6 separate regions of the Homo sapiens genome follow, and all the other regions are linked to region 5. Evidence: promoter capture Hi-C in 16 types of primary human blood cells and fetal thymus (Javierre and others, 2016). All regions are on one chromosome and are shown on one strand. Each heading gives the region's core, a stretch centred on a gene start or on the middle of the fragment in contact. The rest is flanking DNA. Distances are from core to core; before and after follow the strand shown. Region 1 overlaps CT69 (cancer/testis associated transcript 69). Region 2 overlaps LINC01010 (long intergenic non-protein coding RNA 1010). Region 3 has its middle 20 kb from the start of LINC03002. Region 4 has its middle 21 kb from the start of LINC03002. Region 5 holds the start of SGK1 (serum/glucocorticoid regulated kinase 1). Region 6 overlaps CT69 (cancer/testis associated transcript 69).

What was found. Contacts are between HindIII fragments. The CHiCAGO score rates a contact against its expected background, and 5 or more counts as called.
Region 1: a contact is called between a fragment that was not itself captured here and the fragment with the promoter of SGK1 in region 5, in 2 of 17 cell types (activated CD4 T cells and neutrophils). The highest score is 5.5, in activated CD4 T cells.
Region 2: a fragment that was not itself captured here is called in contact with the fragment with the promoter of SGK1 in region 5 in 1 of 17 cell types (neutrophils); the score reaches 10.1 in neutrophils.
Region 3: a fragment that was not itself captured here is called in contact with the fragment with the promoter of SGK1 in region 5 in 1 of 17 cell types (neutrophils); the score reaches 8.4 in neutrophils.
Region 4: a contact is called between a fragment that was not itself captured here and the fragment with the promoter of SGK1 in region 5, in 1 of 17 cell types (neutrophils). The highest score is 9.1, in neutrophils.
Region 6: a fragment that was not itself captured here is called in contact with the fragment with the promoter of SGK1 in region 5 in 1 of 17 cell types (neutrophils); the score reaches 5.8 in neutrophils.

What each region holds. Positions count from the first base shown.
Region 1 is chr6:134,466,778-134,470,462 of GRCh38, reverse strand. The region is part of intron 2 of CT69 (cancer/testis associated transcript 69); the gene reads left to right. The region is part of intron 2 of LINC01010 (long intergenic non-protein coding RNA 1010); the gene reads right to left. Among named protein-coding and RNA genes, the nearest start is that of CT69, 10 kb to the left of the region's middle. The HindIII fragment of the contact is 3,048 bases long and covers 68-3,115 here.
Region 2 is chr6:134,486,802-134,490,663 of GRCh38, reverse strand. The region is part of intron 2 of LINC01010 (long intergenic non-protein coding RNA 1010); the gene reads right to left. Among named protein-coding and RNA genes, the nearest start is that of CT69, 9.8 kb to the right of the region's middle. RefSeq lists a silencer at 2,825-3,036. The HindIII fragment of the contact is 5,752 bases long and covers 1-3,862 here.
Region 3 is chr6:134,558,520-134,562,176 of GRCh38, reverse strand. No RefSeq gene overlaps it. Among named protein-coding and RNA genes, the nearest start is that of LINC03002, 20 kb to the right of the region's middle. The HindIII fragment of the contact is 4,904 bases long and covers 1-3,657 here.
Region 4 is chr6:134,517,240-134,520,951 of GRCh38, reverse strand. No RefSeq gene overlaps it. Among named protein-coding and RNA genes, the nearest start is that of LINC03002, 21 kb to the left of the region's middle. The HindIII fragment of the contact is 8,422 bases long and covers 1-3,712 here.
Region 5 is chr6:134,316,415-134,320,076 of GRCh38, reverse strand. It overlaps SGK1 (serum/glucocorticoid regulated kinase 1), which reads left to right and starts at 1,965. Exons shown (of 14, transcript NM_001143676.3): 1 at 1,965-2,685. The coding sequence starts at 2,617. RefSeq lists an enhancer at 2,138-2,417. The HindIII fragment of the contact is 10,717 bases long and covers 1-3,662 here.
Region 6 is chr6:134,450,498-134,454,247 of GRCh38, reverse strand. The region is part of intron 3 of CT69 (cancer/testis associated transcript 69); the gene reads left to right. All of the region lies in intron 1 of LINC01010 (long intergenic non-protein coding RNA 1010), which reads right to left. Among named protein-coding and RNA genes, the nearest start is that of LINC01010, 15 kb to the right of the region's middle. The HindIII fragment of the contact is 7,211 bases long and covers 1-3,750 here.

The DNA.
Region 1 (3,685 bases), core at 342-2,841, 150 kb before region 5:
CAGTTTCCAAGTTTGCAATGCAGTGAGAAAAAAAAAAACGCCCTAAAATCCTTCTCTATCTTAAGCTTCAAACTACTGCAGACTTGAAGCGAAGATAAAAGAAAGGCTTCTAACCTCCATTTTTTTACTTTTTGGTGCTTAACAGGCAATCCTAACATTAACAGGTTTAGTTCCATGAAACACCTTCTGGGCCAAAAGATAAGACTTCCTTCCCCCATAAATCACATTTTCTCAAATATTTTTCAAAGCTGAGGTGTAAGCCTTTTAATAGAATTATGCAAATTTTGCCCCAACTCTAAATGTTTTAGGAACTAAATAACCACTTTGAAGAATCACAGTTTTGCAGTGTCCACATTGGAAAATAAATGCTAGAAACTGCAGGCAATGAAAGGGACGGCGGTGGCGCCCCAAAAGTGGGAATTTGTCCTTAACGTTATTTTGCACAAACCTAAAGCAACCTCTGCTACTGAAAGGTCAGTTTTGACTCTCTGGGATGAAAATGCTGACCAGTCGTTAGGGGATTATCTGCTTGGCAGAGTAGAAGAAGTCCAGATCAAATGCATCTCATTCCTGATTTGAACTGGCTGAAGGACTAAAAACATCTCAGGCACAAGTCAGGGCAATGAACAGTGAGGCTAGAGACTTGTATAACTCCTAAAACTGAGATGCCAAAGGACATCTGAAAAAGGGCTATGGTTCATTGTGAAGAAATACGATATTTCCTAGTTGGTTTTTTTTTTTTAAATAATGGAAGTCATTTTCTTTTAAATGGTACTTAGAAAAAGATTATTATGAACAATATCTTCCAGTCCGACACATGCTTAGCACTGCAGACTGGGTAAGACACCCTGTTTAATGGAAGATTAGTATTGTCATATACATAAGCTAGAACATGGAAAAGCACACAAACTGTTCTGATTCTGCAACTCTTGGGCCTTCTGCATGTGGGTAAAGAAAAGCAGTTATGTGGAACTTCCAGAAGCACTGTCTTATCACTAAGGGCACTCTTTAGGACTAAACGGCTAATAAAAAAACAGTGATTTTTTTTTTTTTGGACTTAGGTAAGGTAGAAACAAGAAAACGTTTTCTTGTTGCGAACTCATAGACCCTGCGGCACGGCTTTAAAACAGTTAGGAGTGTCCCTGCTCCCTCTGTGGGCTGGTTCTTTTCTCAGCTGTTCCCTTTTCTGGGAGAATGGTCTCTTCTCCCTAAAAACAGTGCTTGAAGGTGGCATGTGTGGCAAAGCAGGCTCGGGACAAAGGAAGAGCACAAAAGAAGGAGTGCGGCATATGGGAACCTTTGCCAAGTTATTATTTTTATTCCAGTTTAGCTTTTTAAGGGTCGCTAGCTAAGGCTGACATTTATTGCCATCATGCTATTTCCTAAGAATAAGGCCTCAGCTGAAAATCTGACCCCAATCAACTTTCAAAAATGCACTGATATATTTTAAAACACACACAATAATGACAAAACCCCCAAATTGCAGCCTGTCCTCTCTCTTTGTATGATGCCTATCTGCCTTGGCACTGTCCAGACTGTATGCCCTTAGAAGCAGCTCCTTGCCTGCAGCTGTGAGGTGTCTTGTTTGCCATCGACCACCTGTGCTATGTGCACACTCAGCTGGCATTTCTGCCAAGAAGCTAAAGTCAGGAACACCAGCAATTTCAAATATGTAATCAGGTTTCAAATTAAAGTCCTTGTGCTTCTGGTATATGGGAGTGTTCCCAGAAAGAGTGGGGGTTCTGCTGTCACTCTTCTAGCTGCTGTGTAATTTTTTTTTTTTGCAAGGCACTTGGTATGTATCTGGCTTTAAAACTGACATTGCCAGGCATCAGAAGTTGAGAAGTTTCGTCCTTGATTTATTTGTTCTCGTTTGTGTTCAATTATGATTAGAAGTCACCTCTACACAGCTGCTCTACAATTTGTACTGCATTTGCTTCTGGGATTTCTAACCGCACTGTTCAGTGGAATAACATTAACAATATGAAAATGAAGTCCGTTTTTATAGTGCAGTGGATAGTGTTTTATTAAAAATGGCTAACAGCTGTAATTTGTAGGTAGTTAACTCATGTGAAGTTTAACTTTAGCATGTATTTTTCCCTAGGAAAATATTTTATATAAACAGAAAGACAAATGTGAAAAAGTAAATCAAACCCAAAACACACCTACCAAAGTAATTCTGATCACAATAGCGACATCTCTGCTGCTGCTATGTTTCTGGAAAAAAAAAAGGGGGCTCCCCACTTTAGTCTGGAATGATAGTAAGTAATAAAAAGAAAATATATAGCTGTCGATGTTTTTGTTTTCTTTTCTTTTCCCCACAATAACAAGGACTTCATAGACACAGATAAGCTACATGTTCTTTTCCAAAAATTTCCTGCAACAGAGTTTTCTGACAGGGTCATATTACAATTCTAAATGTGAATAACACAGCAAAAAGAAAAAAAAAGGGTATTTTTTGGCTGGTACTCATGGGTATTAGTTTGCACTCTTGCAAGCTAACTGAATATCCACAGACCTTGTGTAGAGTCCAGAGGATGGCTTTGATGCTCTTTCTGCTACAGGCTGGTTTGGGTGCCTGAGTTAGAAGTGTTAAAAGGGCACAGAAAACAGATCTCCTGATTGGCTTCTTTTTCTGAGCACCATTACCTAGGGCACAATTGTGAAAGAAGATATCAGGAATGATAAGAAGACAGGATCATACCTCAGGGAAAAAAGAGACCAGTCATAACTACAGATGGTGCCTCTAATGTAAAGGTGGCTACAAATGTGTGTGAAGAAGTGGATAGTATTCTCGTTTTGCAGTGCCTAGAGTTTAAAATTTAGTATAGTAGGGTCTATGGATATTCCATTAGCTTTCAAGAGTACAAACTAATACCCATGTGTACCAGCCAAAAAAAATCCTTTTTTTTTTTTTTTTGCTTTTTGCTGTGTTATTCATATTTAGAATTGCAATCTAATCCCTTCTGAAAACTCTGTTGCAGTAAACTGTTTTCCATTATTCTTATCATCTTCTAACATGCCATTTGATATGTTAGAAATATTAAATGTTAGCCTGTTCTTTATTTCCTGCACACTCTTCCTCCCCAACCAGAATGTAAGTGCCGGGGAAGCTTTGTTTGCTTTATTTACTCCTCTGGCCCTAACCCTAGATCAGTGCCAGGCACATAGTTGTCTGTTGACTTAGTAATGAGTAATCCATTTTAGTCCTGTGTTTCTATGAAGCTGATTGATAATAAGCTTATAGCTTCTGAAATTATATTATATTATTCTATATTTATTGAACACCAAAGGCAAAATCTCTATCTTTTTATTTCAAGGTACAGTGCAGACTGCTAACACTTGGAGAATTTTAATGTTATTACTTGAAGTGAGTTGAGGCTCCTAATTGGAGAATGACTGGTTGGTTATCAATTTAACTGCTTGTGAGATTGTTAGTTTTTTGAGTAGAGGTCAGGAATAACACTGCAAGAGAATATGTTTTCCAAACTCCTCCTATAAATGCACCATCCAATTAAAGAAAGCTGAGATAACATTACTTCAAGGCACTTTCAAAAAAATGATGTCAAATTTTGCACACAAGTGGAGTGCTGCTTTTATTTCACATACGTGCTCATATCTGTTTTTAATAGAATGTTGATAGAGAAATCTTGTTACTGCTGGAAAGAAATGAAGAACAAATGTT
Region 2 (3,862 bases), core at 679-3,178, 170 kb before region 5:
TGTTTTGAACTATTTCATTTCTTAAACATTTAATGAAAATCACCGGTGAAGACCTCTGAGCCTGGAGTTATCTCTGTTCAAAGCTCCTTAATTATGAACTGCGTTTCTATAATTAATATAAGGATATTTAAGTTCTTAATTTTGGGGGGTTCTGATTTGGTAATCTGTTTTTCTTAAGAAATTTGTCTATTTTATCTAAATTGTCAAATTTGTTGGCAAAAGCTACACGTAGCATTCTCTTATGATCTTTTTAATGTTTGTAGAATCTGAAGTGATGCCCCGTTTTCTGATATTGGTAATTTTGCACTTGTGTCTTTTGGCTAGAGTTTTAAGAATTTTATTAACATTTTAAAAGAACAAGTTTTTGTTTTTGTCTGTCTCTATTGCTTGTCCAATTTTCCTTTCATTGATTTCTGCTACCTTTATTATTTTCTCCCTTCTACTTATTTGGGCTTAATTTTTGTGCTTCTTTTTGTAATTTCATAAGGTTGAAATGTCAATCATTGATTTTAGATATTTTTGTTTTTCTTTAATTTATACATCTCATATGTATAAATTAATACCTCTTCATAAAAGAAAAAGATCTAAGAAGAAAGAAAAAGATCTACCTATAGATTTGTCTCAATCACTGTTTTAGCTGCATCCCCCAAATTTTGGTGTGTTGCATTTTTATCACTCAGTTCAAAATATTTCCTAACTTCTTCTTGCAATTTTTTTCTTTAACTCATTAGTTACTTAGGAGATGTTGTTTAATTTCCAAATGTTTGGGGTTTTCCTAGATATCTTGTTTCTATTTGTTTCAAATTTAAACCCATCATGATCAAAGAGCATACTAAGTATGATTTCATTATTTTAGAATCCTTCACTGAAACTTGTTTTATGGCTGAATATATTATCCATCTTGGCAAATATACCACATTGCTTTTGAAAAAAATGCATCTTTTGTATTCTTTCAAATGTTGGGTGTAGGATTCTATAAATATCGAGTAGATCAAGATGGCTGATAATTTTGTAAAGAGCTATGTGTTTCTGATTTAATTTGTCTAGCTGTTCTTTTATCTTTGGGAGAATGGCATTAAAATCTCTAATTATAACTTAGAAATGGCAATTTTTGTTTCCAGTATTTTTAAGTTCTGTTATTAGGCACATAAACATTTATTACTGTTATGTATTTCTAGTGGATTGCCAAATTTATTATTATAGAATGTCCCTCTTTATCTCTGGTGATACTTTTATCTTTAAAATTTTGTTTATATCTTATTTTAATATAGCTACACCAGTCTTCTTACACCTTCTGTTTTCATGGTAAGTCTTTTTCCACCCATATACTTTCCATCTATTTTTCTCTATATATTTAAAGTGCAACTCTTATAAATGGCATATATTTTGGTCTTGCTTTTTATCCATACTATCGCTATATTCTAAATGGAGTGTTTAGATTACATTGGAGTGTTTAGATTAAATGCATTCATGTATTTATTGATATATTTATGATTGGGCCTACGATTTTATTATTTTGTATTTGTTCCTTCTATATTGTGTTTCTTTGTTCCTGTTACCTATTTTTTTAGATACTTGGAATTAAAGTTTATTCTTCCTATTAGCTTTTTAGCTATACTTCTTGGCATTATTTATGTAGGTGATTGCTTTAGGAATTGGACTTCTTACAGTCCACTTACATTTATGCATTATGGTTTCATACAAAATGTAGAAGACTTACAACTCCGTAAGATCCATATTGACTTCCCCCTAATCCTTTATCCTTAGTTGTTACATGTATCACATCTGGATATCTTAGAAACCCCACAAGATAATGATATAGATTGCTTTAAACAGTTATATTGACTATACAAAATTAAGATAAAAAAGCAAAAAAAAAAAAGCATTTTCTAGCCAGACACGGTGGCTCATGCCTGTAATCCCAGCACTTTGGGACGCCAAGGCAGGAGGATCACCTGAGGTTGGGAGTCCAAGACCAGCCTGACCAACATGGAGAAACCCTGTCTCTACTAAAAATACAAAATTAGCCAGGCATGGTGCCTCATGTCTGTAATCCCAGTTACTCAGGAGGCTGAGGCAGGAGAATTGCTTGAGCCTGGGAGGCAGAGAGGTTGTGGCGAGCCAAGATTGTGCCATTGCACTCCAGCCTGGGCAACAAAACTCCGTTTCAAAAAAAAAAAAAAAAAGAGAAAAAAAAAAAGCATTTTCTGTTCACCCAGATGGTTATTAGTTCTAGTGCTCTTCACTCTTATTCATGGTTCTGAGTTTCCATCTCTTTTTATTTCTCTTCAACCTCAAGAACTACCTTTAGCATTTCTCATAGTGTTGGCCTGCTTGCATCAAATCGTCTTAGTTTTCTTTCATCTGAGAATGTTTTTCTTTCTCCTTCATTTCTGAAGGGTATAGAATTCCCAGTTGACAGCTTTCTTTTTCTTGAAGCACTTTGAAGATGTTGTTCTACCCTGCTGGCCTCTGTGGTTTCTCATAAGATCAGCTATTAACTGAATTACTGTTCTCTTATATATATGTGTCATTTTATTGCTTGCCACTTTCTAGATTTGTTCTTTAATTTTGGCTTTCAGTATGTGACTCTGATGATACCTGTTTCTGCAAGATAGGCTTTGGCAAAAATCAAAATTTTAGGTCAAATAACAGCCTCACTGATTCCTTTACTGGCTAGAACGTAAAATGTGTAGAACCACGTCAGGTTTCCAAGGAGAATCTTATCAAATCTTTAAAGAGCATGCAATTTAAATGCTATTGAGATTGACCAGAGCAAAATTCTTTGTATGAAGCAAGTATAATATTAATAACAAAATATGATTTAAAATTTACATAAAAAAGAAAACTACAGAAGAATCTCAAATATGATGACAGTCAGAATCAAATAACACATTTATAAAAATAATACACTGGCCAAGTGCAATGGGTCATGCCTGTAACCCCAGCACACTGGGAGGCCAAGGCAGGAGGATTGCTTGAGGCCAGGAGATTGAGATCAGCCTGGGCAATGTAACAAAACTCCATCTCTAAAAAAAAAAAAAAAAAAAAAATTAGCCAGGCATGATTGCATGCACCTGTAGTCCTAGCTACTTGGGAGGCTGAGGCAGGAAGCTAGCTTGAGATAAAGGCTGCAGTGAGCTATGATCATGCCACTACACTCTAGTCTGGGCAACAGAGAGCAAGACCCAGTCTCAAATAATAATAATAATAAAAATAATATACCATAATCAAGTGGGGTTTACTCTGTAAATCTAAGAATACTTGGCATCATGAAGTCAATTGATACAATTTGTCAAATTTAAGGAGATTTAAAGAGAAAATTCACAAATCATCTCTGCAAATACTAAAAAGATATTTGATACAACAGAATGCCCATTCTTGATTTTTAAAATTCAATAAAATAGAACTTGAAAAGTATTTTGCTAACATGAAAAAGATATATAAATAGAAATCCCAGAACAACACAAGGATGCCCACTATACCACTGGTATTTAATGTTTCATTGGAGGTGTTAACTCTCGCCATTAGATAACAGAAGAAAATCGGTAGTGTAAGAACTGAAAAGGAAGAGGAAAACTAACTCTTAATCCACCTGACAAAGGCCTAATATCCAGAATCTACAAGGAGCTTAAGCAAACTTAGAAGAAAACAAACAACCCCATTAAAAAATACGTGAAAGATATGAACAGACACTTCTCAAAAAAAGACATACATGTGGCCAAGAAATCTGTGAAAAATAGCCCAACGTCACTGATCATTAGAGAAATGCAAATCAAAACCACAATGAGATACCAACTTGTGCCAGTCAGAATGGTGATTATTAAAAAGTCAAGAAACAACAGATGCTGGTGATGTTCCA
Region 3 (3,657 bases), core at 350-2,849, 240 kb before region 5:
CACAGTTCAGTTCCCTCTACTAAATCTAGTAAGTTTTTATAGCAGTGATTATCTGAGACCAGAATAGATGGTCTCGGAAGTAATTTAACTCTTCAAAGTGGTTCAAAGGAACTAAAAAAGCTGGAAAAGCAGTGCTCTCATGTAAAGTAAGTGAGGAGAGAGACAAAATGAGATGAGCTGAAAGCCTAGGCTTTATCTTACAGGAATGAATAATTAGTTACTCAAAGATTAAAGACTAATGGATTTGGGACTGGTACTTAAAAGTATGTTTCACTTTCTAATGTTCTCTGAAATGAAACCTAATGAAGCAGATTTCACAGCAGTTTCCAAAACCCATACAAAAGACAGATCCTAAGAAGTGTAGCAGAAATCAAATGAAAACATCAAAATTTATAAATATGTTTTGAGAACTTTCATTTCATATTTATCCCTTTAAATTTAAATTTCATGAGGACCCATGGAGTACTATTCAGCCATAAAAAGGAATGAAATAATGGTCTTTGCAGCAACTCGGATGGAGCTGGAGGCCATTATTCTAAGTGAAGTACTCAGGAACAGAAAACCAAATATCGTATGTTCTCACTTATAAGTGGGAGCTAAGCTATGAGAACGTGAAAGCATAAGAATGATATAATGGACTTTGGGGGTCTGGGTAGGAATGGAGTGAGGGATAAAAGACTACATATTGGGTATAGTTTACATTGCTCAGGTGTCAGGTGCACCAAAATCTCAGAAAGCACTGCTACAGAACTTATCCATGTAACCAAAAACCACCTATACCCCCAAAACTATTGAAATAAAAATAAATAAATAAATGAAAATAAATTTCATGAGGATGTAGTAAGCTGAGAATTGCATACCGAATGCCACAAGCAAGTCTATTTTTTAAGAGTACAAAAAAAAAAAGCAGGCATATACACATATTCAGAAACAGATGAACAAAAAGGAGGCTAGTGACTCAACGTTTTTGACACTTAACAGTGGGTTGACTTGACTTTAGTTCCAGGAACGGGCAAAGGTTCAAGTTGGATCTCATTTTATTCAAACTGGTTTTCCCACCATCTTTAGTTACATCGTGACAGTACTCCCACTACTATGCCTCAAATACCAAACACTATGCCAATACTTTTATTGGATTAAAGAAAAGAAACCGCAAGTAAACATGTCTGATACCCCCAAAGATCACATATCTTTTTTTTTCACCAGTTATTTTTGCTGTCTTATTTTCTTGTAGGTGCTTTTGCTGATATGGGCCTGAATGTAGACAAGACCACAACACTTTGCAGCTGGCTATTTTTGTAGAGGAGGAATCTGTAAAGGGCAAGTAGGCTCAGTTCATTGCCCAGACGATCTCCAAATAGGTCCAAACCTGTTTAGCTGCAAATACAATAGCAGTTCTTTCATGCATTATTTAGTACAAAACATCTAGCTGTTGTTATTTAAAGTGGACTACAATTTTCAGAACTTTCACAATCCAAGAAATGCCTCAGTTTACCTGTCATATAAAGAAATTAATGTCACTTCATCCTGTCTGAGAGCATTAAGGTATTCTACAGACTATGAGATGTCTGGATCCACCAGGCAAAAAAGACTCATAGAGTTAAAAGCTATCAACTGCTCTTCTCTCCATAGTAGCAGGTTTGTCATTGTAACAAGTACAAGGTTTGGCAAACCTCATAAAGCAAATGGGTTTGTTCCCATAATCCTAGGCCTCTGGGCTTGGTTTCTGATTAGAAATGGTATGCTGGCACACTTCTTACACAGGAAAAGACAAAATGTGGCTGTTATGAAAATACTAGGGAGAGTATTAATTTTTGTCCTCAATAATATCATATAAGGTACCTTAGATATTTCTGCTGGTTTATCACTGTGCACTGCACTGAATAGTATGAATCCAGCAACAACAACTACAACAAAAAACATGAGACACAGGATTTAATCAATGGCAGTTCCAAAGATTTTCTGTGTGGGGTCAAAGAACAGTATTCTGCCAGTAGCTTGCCATTTCCTACAGTTATGCCAAAAAGCCAAATAGGTTTATGTGTAGGTAGAAGAGTAAAAGAGTTTAGTCTAACAATGAGCTTTAGTTTAAGAATTGGGACCAATTACATGAAATTCTTCTCTTCTCAATAAGCATTCTAGAACTACCATTTGATCCAGCAATCCCACTTCTGGGTATCTACCCAGAGGAAAAGAAGTCATTATACAAAAAAGATACTAGCACACACATGTTTATAGCAGCACAATTCGCAACTGCAAATATGTGGAACCAGCCCAAATGCCCATCAATAAACAAGTGGATAATGAAACCGTGATATATATATATATATATATATATATATATATATATATATAGGTGTACATCATATATATATATATATATATATATATATATATATGATGAAATTCTACTCAGCCATAAAAGCAAATAAATTAACATTTGCGGCAACTTGGATGGGATTGGAGACCATTATTGTAAGTGAAGTAACTCAGAAAAGGAAAACCAAACATCACATGTTTTCACTCATAAGTGGGAGCATCCTATGAGGATGCAAAGGCATAAGAATGATACAGTGGACTTTGGGGACTCGGGGAAAGGATGGGAAGTGGGTGAGGGATAAAAGACTACAAATTGGGTTCAGTTTATACTGCTAAGGTGATGGGTGCACCCAAATCTCGCAGATCACCACTAAAGAACTTACTCATGTAACCTGATGCCACTTGTTCCCCCAAAAAACTACGGAAATAAAAAAAATAAATAAAAGTATGCTAGAGATTATTACGTTACTTAAAAGTGAGGCACCATAGCATGGAATGGGTCCTGCCAAACTCTGGAGAGATTGTACGAGCAATGCTTCCCACTGGGCTGTTAATGATCCATAGCTGGCCAGCTACAGTCCCTTGCTTATCTGTATCTGTACACTTTAAACACATAAGAAAATCATCTAAGAAATATTCCGATTGTTGCTTTAATTAGTTCTTGTTTCAAGACAATCTATTTCTTGTGGATCACCTACATGGTAATCAGAAGGACAAACACATCATTATCTCTACCAATCACATTACCTTCAAATATGACCTTTGCTGATCAGGTTGTTAAAAATTATACTAAGAGCAGTAATTCTGTAATAGTTCTTATCTCACAAGAGGAAAAATAACCAAAATGCTGTAAATGCCAATGAATCCCCAAGGAAATATCGGAGCTTCTTCTACAGATATTTTCATAAAGGAAACAAAGAAGACGACTTGTGTATTAGTCTGTTCTCATGCTGCTAATAAAGACATACCCAAGACTTGGTAATTTATAAAGGAAAGAGCTTTAATTGACTCACAGTTCAGCATGGCTGGGGAGGCTTCAGGAAACTCACAATCATGGCAGAAGGAAAAGCAAACCTGTCGTTTTTCACATGGCGGCAGCAAGGAGGAGTGCTGGGCAAAAGATGAAAAACCCCTTATAAAACCATCAGATCTTGTGAGAACTCACTGTCACGAGAAGAGTATCAGGGTAACCGCCCCCATGATTAAATTACCTTCCACTGTGTCCCTCCTACGACGTGCAGGGATTATGGGAACTACAACTCAAGATGAGATTTGGGTGGGGACACAGCCGCATCATATCAACTTGTTATGGTGGAATAGTCCTAAGATGGGAGATAT
Region 4 (3,712 bases), core at 988-3,487, 200 kb before region 5:
GCCCCACCAACATGCAATTCCCTTTTCAAATGCTGAGGGCTGACACGCTACTCCCTCAACCAGGGGCCAAATATTTGCCTTAAAAATGAAACTAAAGTAAAAACAAGATTTTTGTAATAAAAACCGGCTGTATAGCAAACAGGATGAAATGTATCATTCTATTCCAGTTCTCTAGTTGGGCTTGAAATAATATTGTAATAAATTCATTAAAAGTACTAGTAGGAGGAAAATTTTTTACCATGATTTTGTGGTACAGTGGCTCCTGGCCACTGTAAATTTGCAAGTTTAAGCAAGGATCATTCAATAATTTTAAAATACTTTCCTCCCCCAGCTTTTTTTTGCAGCAGTAAGAGCATACCTCTGAGGCACTGTGAAGAATCTGATAGTCGAACTGAATGAAGCCAAGTCCAGTCTTTACGGAAAAATTTACACAACACTTCCAGGTGGGCAGATTCAAAGACAGGATGAATCATGGTTCAGTGCAGTGGTTCCTGGCTGTAATCCTAGCACTTTGGGAGGCCGAGGCAGGGGGACTGCTTAAGACCAGGAATTCAAGACAAATCTGGGGAACATAGTGAGACCCCGTCTCTACAAAAAATTTTAAAAAATTAGCCAGGTGTGGTGGCCCGTTCCTGTGGTCCCAGCTACTCAAGAGGCTGAGGCGGGAGGGTCACTTGAGCCCAGGAGTTTGAGGTTACAGCAAGCTATGATCGCACATCACTGCACACTAGCCTGGGTGACAGAGCGAGACCCTGTGACCCCCTTCCTCCCTGAAAAAAAAAAAAAAAATAGGATGAATCAGTGTCAAAATTATGAAGAAAAATATTCTGGGTTCTTAATTCTCAAGGTCTGCATGACCAAAATGGTAAGAGCTCAGAGGGTACAAATTCAAAATGTATTCATTGCTAGAATTGATCTTTAGTGACTGCATTTGAAAAATCTGAAACCACTTGAAAAACAATTGTATATGTGCATATACGTACATGCGTGCGTATGTGTGTGTGTGACCTGAAAAATTTCATTATGAGGTCCTTTATATGGCTACTGTAGCAAGTCCTTCAGTTTATACCAAATGTCTCCTCATAAATCAGTAAACCTCTTCATTTGTTCCTTGATAATGTAAGAGCAATTTCTTTAGAAGGCATATACTGTCCTATAACTGCAGCTTTCTCTTTGTCTCATCTGTACACAATACATAGAATTAAGCACAAAGAAGCAAATGGATGTACCAAAAACAAAGAGCAAACTTTGCAGGGAGTTACGTGCAGGGTCTGAGAGCATTTCCTGTCTCATAGATAGGAAGCATTTGCATCACGGCTTGTCATCTGCGCTGTCGGGCCCAGTGTCTCCTAACTTCCTGAAATAAAACCAGACTAAGCAAAACAATAAAAGTGACAATTTCTCTGTGTTTTGGAATTCCAAACTCCTATTACTGGAACATTAAATCTTTCAACCCTACTGGCTAATGTGCCTTCCAAAATTAACAGTGTTTTTGTAATGGTTTGTTTTTAAAATATAATGCTGCAATATACATTCCATATATTATAACAACTTCTTATTATTATTATTTTGAGATGGAGTTTCACTCTTGTTGCCCAGGTTGGAGTGCAATGGCGTGATCTTGGCTCACTGCAACCTCCACCTCCCAGGTTCAAGTAATTCTCCTGCCTCAGCCTCCTGAGTAACTGAGATCACAGGTGCCCACCACAATGCCCGGCTAATTTTCTATGTTTTTATTAGAGACAGGGTTTCACCATGTTGGCCAGGCTTGTCTCGAACTCCTGACCTGAGGTGATCCGCCCACCTTGACCTCCCAAAGTGCTGGGATTACAGGCATGAGCCACCGCACCCAGCCTATAACACTTATTTTAAACATTATTCCCAAATTCTGCTAATCTTTGTGTCAAGAGAAAAATACTGGCTTATTAAAATTTACTTTTCCTTTTACTCTTCTAAATGGCTTGAACAAAACTCATTCTCCCTTGAATGTTAATTGGGTTTCAGGTGTGGGCAGATGACAGAGAAATACATAATATAAAAACAATCCTTAGTTTTGTCTGTAAATTTATCTTTCTTGCCCTTCAAGTGTACTTGATGGTCCAGTGGTTTCCAACTGTGATACAAAATTTTCATTTGCCTTTATAAGAAATCATCTCGTATAAAGAAGTGGTCATATTTTATCAGCATCATCACCAACAAACACATCACCATCACCACTTTTTAATTTGTAGAAAATCCGGTCTTATCTGCCAAGTTGGCAAGATATCAAAAGAGCGTGTTTTAAGGTGGTTCAGTTCTGGATGAGTTTGGGAAGTTCATGGTCGAGTCTGGGGAGAACTTCTATGTCATAAACCTCCACATCACATAGGTTAACAGAGTAATAGAATTGTGTAGGTACAGAGACCTGATGAAACCTACTGACACCTCTGCTTTTCAAACCAAGAGAGTGCCCCTTCTAGGGTGCCCTTGGGAATGTGCAGCCATGAATTAGGTGTGCCTGGAGTAAAGGAACACACAAGACTGCGAGATGGGATGAGGTGAGTGTGAGTGAGTGCATGGAGAGAGGTTTAGGTAGGACATAATATCTATGTTTTAAATATCAAAACAAACTCAGATGATGGAAACGAATATAAATTTTTCATAAAATTTTAGGGAACAACTAACTTATTTTCTGTTTAGAGCAAGCATTCAGACCTGTAGAGAGTACAAATTCATTCAGCCCAGAAGAAACGCTTAAGGAGAGTGATCTGATCCCATGCTTTCATTATGCTGCAAGGAAATAGAAGTGATTTACCAGCCCACTAGAATCCTGGTTTTCTGACTGCCAGGCCTCAGCTCCAATTCATAGCTCTTTAAGAAAAGAGGAAATGCAGAATTAACTTCTATTAAATTTCATCCATGGGCCAGACAGGATGACGACTGCCAGGCATTGTCATCGTCACAAGCGGTGGTTACGAGCTCAGGCTCCCAGGCACACTTCTTCAGTGGGAAATTGGTTCCACCTCTTACCTGTGTGACTTTAGGCAGGTCATTTTTAAGTCAACTGATTCCTAGTTTCTTCACTATAAAATGAGGATCATAAATGAAACTTCTTTACTGACAAGAATTAGATGAGACAATCTTTGCAAAATACTTAATGGTGCTTGGCGTGCAAATGTTAGTTCAGTGAAGACTGAATAGAAAAAAAGAGAAAAAAAATCCTTTGTCTGTGGGAGGGGTGAGGAAGAGGCAGTGGGGGTCGATTTTATGGCTGTTTTACAGATGAGAAAAATTGGGATTGAGTAAAATTCACTCATTTGCCAGCAAGTTGCAAAACCAGTATGTGAAGTTGTGTCTGTTTGAACCCCCACTTCAGATTGTGTCTGCGACACCGCAACGCCTTCCTGTTAAGAGAGCCGAGAGCTGGAAACTATGCTGAGGCCATCCCCTTTGGGAGCTGGCTGCCGCACTCACTGCACTCATGCTGAGTTCTGAAAGCCCTCTGGCAGCTCCCCAGCAATTCCAGCAATCTGCAAAGTTCTGAACTGGGTGCTGCCCAGGTGGCAGAAGTCAGTGAGCATATCCAGGTGACAGTGCAAATATGATTGTAGGTAGGAGTCCGGAATGTGACCTTGACTTCTTTTAGCCATTTCCCAGTCCGTTCTCAAGGGCAGATGCTGCGTCCTCTCTCAATGCAGGGCTGACTCACTCCATGCCCAACACTGTAAGAGCT
Region 5 (3,662 bases), core at 716-3,215:
TGAAACCAGGGTATTAGTCCGTTCTCACACTGCTAATAAAGACATAGTGAGATGGGTAATTTATACAGGAAAGAGGTTTAATTGACTCACAGTTCAGCATGGCTGGGGAGGCCTCAGGAAACTTACAATCAGAGCAGAAGGGGAAGCAAACACATTCTTCTTCACATGGCATCAGGAAGGGGAAGTGCTGAGCAAAAGGGAGAAAAGCCCCTTATAAAACCATCAGATCTCATGAGAAATCACTCACTGTGGGAACTACAATTCAAGACGAGATTTGGGTGGGGACACAGCCAAATGATATCAACCAGTATGCATGCTAGGCCAATGTGGGATTAAGCAAAGCCCCAGCACCTCCTTCCTAGCAGAGTGCTTAAAGGTCCCCTCCTGTATATTACTCAAATTCAATAAATGTCTGTTAAAACACTTTTGGGGGAGTGGCAATGGGACGAAAAAGAAAGAACTTGAATGACCATCATTTTTTAAAATGAGGTCCATTGAGGTATAATTTACATGCAGCAAAAGTTTCCCTTTTCCTATATAAAATTTGATGAGTTCTGACAAATGCATAGTTATGTAACCACCACCATCATCATGATAGAGAACACTTCCATCGTCTCAAAATAATTCCCTTTGAACTACCATAATTTTAAATGAACTCTTTAGAAGAACCACAAAAACTTATCAATGTTGTAGATTACATAACATATACTTGCATCTTGGACAACTTAACATATCTCTCCAAAATGAATAGTTGTTTTCCCTTGGTTATCATGCCATCATTTAGTTGTATTGCATTTTCTTTTTGGAAACCTCAAGGCATTTAGCAAACAGGATTTCATGTTTATTCCCAAAAACTCTGGCCCAACTGTAGAGATTTATAGTCCAATTCAATGAAACCCATGCATTTCTTTCCCAGTTTAACCTGATGTTTCTCTTCTTACCAGAGACTTCCATGTAAATACTTTAACAATGTTAGGTGTGTTATATATAATGAGGTCATAATCAGTTTCAAATTAGCATTGCGCCTTTCACTTATTTATCAATTATATTCCCTTGTGATGATTATGAAAAGGCTCCACATCCTGAGGACACTTGTCAGAGTTAGATTTATTAATGGAATGAAATAGCAAATAATGAATGACTAAATAAATGAATGAGTGAATGAATGAATGAGTGGCTGCCTCCATTTTATGGATGAGGCAGTGTCCGAAAGGCACAGTGAGGTCAGGTGATGGCAGAAAGCCACACACCGATGTTGGTGGCTTTCTGCCAGGTCAGATGCCAAGTTTATTTTCTTTGCTTTCTTGCTTTACTATCAACTAATCTTTAAAATCATTCCCATAAAATATCAACATTAAAGAATAAAAATGGAAAAATAAGCCACATACAATTAAATGGCTTTTTTAAAAGGAGCTCAGTGTGCAAAGGATAACATGAGTAAGGATTTTTTGGGAAATTTTTCACCTAATAGGAAGAATGCTTTACTCTTTTATTTATCAAACCTTCCTCATCATTAAATGGATTCAGTAGTACTTTTTGGTAATAACTCGTGTGTGTGTGTATGTGTGTAATAAAGTACTTTGTATATGTTCATTGTGTTCTTTTTTTAATAAGCTGTTTTAATGAAAAAGACACAATTACCGTCACCATTGCCCACTATATAATGACAAGTAGGGGAGGGGAGGCTAAAAGAGCTTCTACATAGTGAGAGATCTTCCATTGTTATACCTACGCTTGCACTTTATTTCATTTTCTTCCACGTTTGGACAGGTCGAGATTAAATGTGATTACATTTCCGTTGAGAGGCTTTTATTCAGCAACAGGATTCAAAAGAATGTCAATGAGCATAAAATAAAAACGGTGTGCAATTTATATGAAACTCTGATTTAAATGGTCCTAACCAAAAAAAAAAAAAAAGAAAGAAAGAAAAGAAGCTATTTAAAGTAACCCTCCCAAGGGGAGTCAACTGCTCTTCAGTGTGCCCTGAGCCGGCTGTGCCTTCTCTCCATCCGCTGCTCAGATATTCATGAACCGTTGCTTCTTCCAGCCTCGCCTTCTCGCTCCCTCTGCCTTTCTGGCGCTGTTCTCCCTCCCTCCCTCTGGCTTCTGCTCTTTCTTACTCCTTCTCTCAGCTGCTTAACTACAGCTCCCACTGGAACTTGCACAATCAAAAACAACTCTCCTCTCTCAAGCCGCCTCCAGGAGCGCATCACCTGGAGAAGAGCGACTCGCTCCCCGCGCCGGCCGCGGAAGAGCAGCCAGGTAGCTGGGGGCGGGGAGGCGTACCCTTCTCCCGCTCGGTAAGAGCCACAGCATCTCCCCGGAGATTGGCCGTATCCCACCGTCCGGCCCCCAGGGTCCTGCAGCGGTGATGCATATGTTTCGGAGCAATGATGGAAGGAGAAAAGCCGCTGTCGGTGGCAACTGAAAGTGGGGAGAGGTTGCTGCAGTAGCTGGTGCTGCAGAATGCGCGAGTGAAGAACTGAGCCCCGCTAGATTCTCCATCCCGCTCAGTCTTCATTAACTGTCTGCAGGAGGTAAACCGGGGAAACAGATATGCACTAACCAGGCGGGTGCCAACCTGGATCTATAACTGTGAATTCCCCACGGTGGAAAATGGTAAACAAAGACATGAATGGATTCCCAGTCAAGAAATGCTCAGCCTTCCAATTTTTTAAGAAGCGGGTAAGGACAGGTTTTGCTTATTTCTTTTGTTTTCTGTGCTTCTCTTAAATGCTTTTGAATGTTTGCCTGAAGTAAGCCTGAGGTTTTGTTGCTAAACCCTTAATGTAAGCCGTGCTTCTGATGGCAGTGGTAAAGCTGAGAACTATACCTGACTTGATTAGAATTTGTTGGAGGAGGGGCAGGGGGCTATGAAGAGTTGCATTGGGAGGAGGGGGTTGGGCTGAGATGCCTTAAACGGGTTTGAGCTGGGAATGGGGATTTTTCTCTCTCAAGCCACAACAAAGATTACAAGGCAGTCGCAAAGAGAACTGGCTTGAGTACAATTATGGCTAGTAATTTAGTCAGGGGCTAATTTAGCAGCTTCCTCTCATCTTTGAAGGGTTCAACTTTTCTACACCTTTCATCCACTCAGTCTCAAGTGATGCATTATCATCTTCGTTCGTCAGAAGCAGCAGCTTCTGGTTTCCCAAATCCATTCAGCCAATAATTTGCTGTGTCTCTATCTGTGGTATAAATAGCAAAGGAGTAGAATGACCTTTTACAGAAATGATGGAATCCAGCATTTAAAATTGTCTATTTTAAGTTGCCTCAATTTTTGCTTTTGCTTAGAATAACTGCCTTTTTTTTTTTTTTTTTTTTTTTTTTTTTGGGAGAGAGCAGTGGGAGGTCTGTATTTGAGTGATAATTCAGGGTTATGTTGCTGTATGCATTTATTTCTTAAACTCCTTATTCTTCAACTCAAAGTATGAATAATGTTGCATTGGTTGTAGGTGAGAAAAAAGGATTTTTTTGCATGTATATTTCACAATAAACTCAGTTCACTGGGATGGCCACACTGGTGGTCTGTGTAAATCTGCAAATTTATACACAAGCGGGAGGTAAGAAATGAATGATTGTTAAAGGAATGACACTGACACTCTTAAGGACAGTGTTTCCTAAGCAACGTAAGAGAAGGAACATCCTCCAGTCCCCAGTTG
Region 6 (3,750 bases), core at 345-2,844, 130 kb before region 5:
TTTCTGAGCTGCCTGAACAAACAGGTTATTTAAGCCATTGTGTGGAGAAGGTTGGAGGTGGTTTTTAGAGAAGACAGATCTCTCTTCCAAGGAAGGATTATTATGTGGTTGCAGTAAGAGATGAGAAATTATTCTCTTGATGTCCACATGTCATTGAGGCCACAGCAGGACAGGGAGGCAACCCTTCATATTGATGTGAATGGTGGAGTGTAACTCATCCAACCAGTTTCCCCTGAGGAATTTCTCAGCCAAACAATTCCTAACCTCTCTCCTCCCTTATGTATCCCTAATAGATTGGAGTGGGGGAGGGGTGGCGCTGACACTGAAACCTTCAGTGCTTGTTAGGAACACATCTAAAATATTTTATTTGAGGGCAGTAAAATGAAGAAACCAGGTTGCCTGGTGGGAAAACCATCAGCTTTTGAATCATCAAATTTTGAATCAAATCCCAGCTCTGCCAGCATTAGCTTCATAACCTTAGACCCTCTCTGCATCTCAATCATCAACTGTAAAGACTGCTGTGAAGTTTAATAAGACACCTAGAATAGTGTCTAGTGGTGTCCAAAGTGTGGCCTGGCCTAGGACCAGTATCTGCATCACCTGGAAACTTCTTAGAATTGCAAATTCCCAGTCCCATCACAGACCTAATGAATTAAACTGGGATGGAGAGAAGGTAGCAGCAACCTGGTTTTAACAAGCCATCCAGGTGATTCTGATTCACAAGAAAATTTAAGAACCCCTGGCCGGGTTTACAAAAGTCCCTCAATAAATGGCAGCTGTTCTATCATATTAGTGTAGTGTTTTACAGCTTACTGATTTGCTTTTTCATTCACACTACCATCTACTTTGCTCAGGTTTACATTCCCTTTGACCCAGTAATTCCACTTTGCAGAATTTTCCTAAGGAAATAATTAGAGATGTTCAGAAAGATTTATATGAAGAATTAATCATGCACGTGAAAATTTAGAAACTAATGTCAAATGAACAATATGAAACTGGTTTAATAAATTATGGCACACCTATATGATGGAACACAGTGCAGCATTTTAAAAGCATATTGTAGATCAGTGTATGTCAGAGCAAGCTCTGAGAATCACCTCCATCAGAATCTTCTGGGGTGCTTCTTCAAAAGGCAGATATCAGATTTATGAGTCATCATCTGCGGTTATGAATGAGGATCTCTGCGAGTGAGAGACTTCAGAATCTTTATTTCCCACATGCTCCCAGGTGAGTGGTATGCACCCAAAAGTTTTCAAATAATGTTTTAGATTAATAATAATATATGGAAGATATTCATGGTGTATTATTGAGTGAATGAAAGTGTGTTTTAAAGCAATATTTACAATATCTCAATAACATATGCACCATAGCCGTATATGTAAAAAGACCAAACTACATATGCTAAAATGCTAAGTAATTATTTCTGGACAGTAAGATGGCAATTCTGGTGATTTGTTTTCTTCTGTTCTCGATGTTTTGCATTTTCTGTAATGTATAGCTTTTCCATGAGAAAAGTAAAACCACATAATAGTGCATGTGTCATTAAACTATGGAGTGGGAGCTTCACATTTTATTAATTTTTTTAAATTTTTGATTTCAGTAGAGATGAAGTCTCACTAGGTTGTTCTCAAACTCCTGGCCTCAAGGGATCAATCCCAAAGTGCTGGGATTACAGGCGTGAGCCACCATGCCTGGACTGCTTGAGGAGTGAAGGCTAAGATAAATCCAGAATTAAGCTGTGTATTAGTCTGTTTTCACACTGCTATAGAGAACTGCCAGAGACTGGGTAACTTATAAAGGAAAAAAGTTTAATTGACCCACAATTCTGCGTAGCTGGGAAGGCCTCAGGAAACTGACAATCATGGCAGAAGGGGAAACAAGCCTGTCTTACATGGTGGTAGGCAACAGAGAGCATGTGAGAGTGCAGGAAAAACTATCATTTATAAAACCACCAGATCTCGTGAGAATTCACTCACTATCATGAGAACAGCATGGGGGATACTACCCCCATAATCCAATCACTTCCTTCCCTCAACACGTGGGGATTACAATTCAAGATGAGATTTGGGTGGGGACACAAAGTCTAACCATATCAGGCTGTAAACAAGTCCTCCTCACCTCTGCCCAGGGGATGCTGAGGCAGTCAGCCATTCATTAGGCAATGCAGGTGACTGGGCATGCTGCTGACCCCATCTGTAGTCCCTGGATAATCACTGGGGGCAGAAAGAAAGGAAATCAGAGCACTATTGACCTGGCACAGAAGTTATGGAGCCTTCTGTGGACTTCTTTTATAACAGGAGAGTTGCCCATCTTTCATGGGTGAATCCCCTTAAAATGCATAACAATTTAATCTTGGAGTTTGTGTTTTGTAAGTGAAGTCCAGAAGGACAATGGAACAGGGGGTGAGGAGCTTCCTCATCCACTCTCATTATCTCCCACCCCTCCACTCTCTGCTCCCCAACCCCCTTCCAGTGACTACAGCCATTTGGGCAGGCAGGGGCCTGGGCCTGCAGGGGGCGTGGAAGCTGGGTGCACACACCCCATGCACCAAGTGGCTGGGCAGGCCTGAGCTACCTGAGACCATCTGCACTCACCCTGTGAATACCCCTGTATCAAAGAGAGCATGAAATTAAATAGCAAGTAAGAGACCCCATGACAGGCCAAAAGAGAAAGAAAGGAAATCTTCCACACCTCCCCCCCACCACCACCCCTGCTTTTTGAAGGGACTTTGAGGGTTTTTTGTGTGTGTGTTTTCACTTGGGCTCTGCAAATTAAGGTAGCAGTCCAGATGAGGACTTAGGGATCGATGCACACATATCAAAGAAATGAAAAGAGGGCTTATTGGAAGAGGTTCCTCCCTTGGTAATCATTTCTGGTCTGTCTGAGAAAACTAATGTACTCCAGAAGGGTGTATCCCTGAAGGCACTACAATGTAGAATAAATTGTGTGGTTAAGTCAGGAGTATTTTCTCAGAAGGGTGTCTCTAGTGATTATAGACCAGGACACAGCCCTACTTAATTATATGCAGTATAAATAATCATTCTAAATAGTCTTTTCATATATACATGAAAGAGTATTTCATATGTGTGTATATACACATATATATGAAGCCAGGACTAATTAGAGAAAGTATCAGGAGTGTGACAGACAAGTTCTTCAGCTTTTGTTAAACAAGATTGAGGGGGAAAACATAATTATCAAAAAGAGCTGAGTTCACCTTTCTTTCTAGAAATTATCTTTCCAATAGCTTTCTCTTGTTCTCACTTTGAGAAAAGAGTTAAAAATAAAAATGAAAATAATGAATTTCGCTTTGTAGAAAGCACACTCCAGCACTTTGTTCATTAGCATCTGGAAAGTCCAGGGCACTCATGCACAAACAAATTACAATGCAAATGCTTATTAATGAAAAATCTACAATATGCATGTTTATAAAAATCAATTACACTTCACACCAATTTCTAAATTACTCCCACAGAGTTAAAAACCATTTTAAGTTTCTAATAAATAAAAACTCAATTTTACTGCTCCGTGGAAGTGAGAACAATTCATTAAACTCCTGAGTCCTGCTGGTTGTCTTGGTGAGGGCCAAAGAGAGTTTAGTAATTACTCACATGTGGAAAAACGGGTGTGTATGTGTTTGAAGGAGGCCTCTTTTGGACCCAAACCTTGGCCTGGTTTCCCCAAATCTCATGGACTTCTTGTCTTACTCTAACAAGAGAATTAGCCAGGGTCCTCTTTCCTATTTAGTAT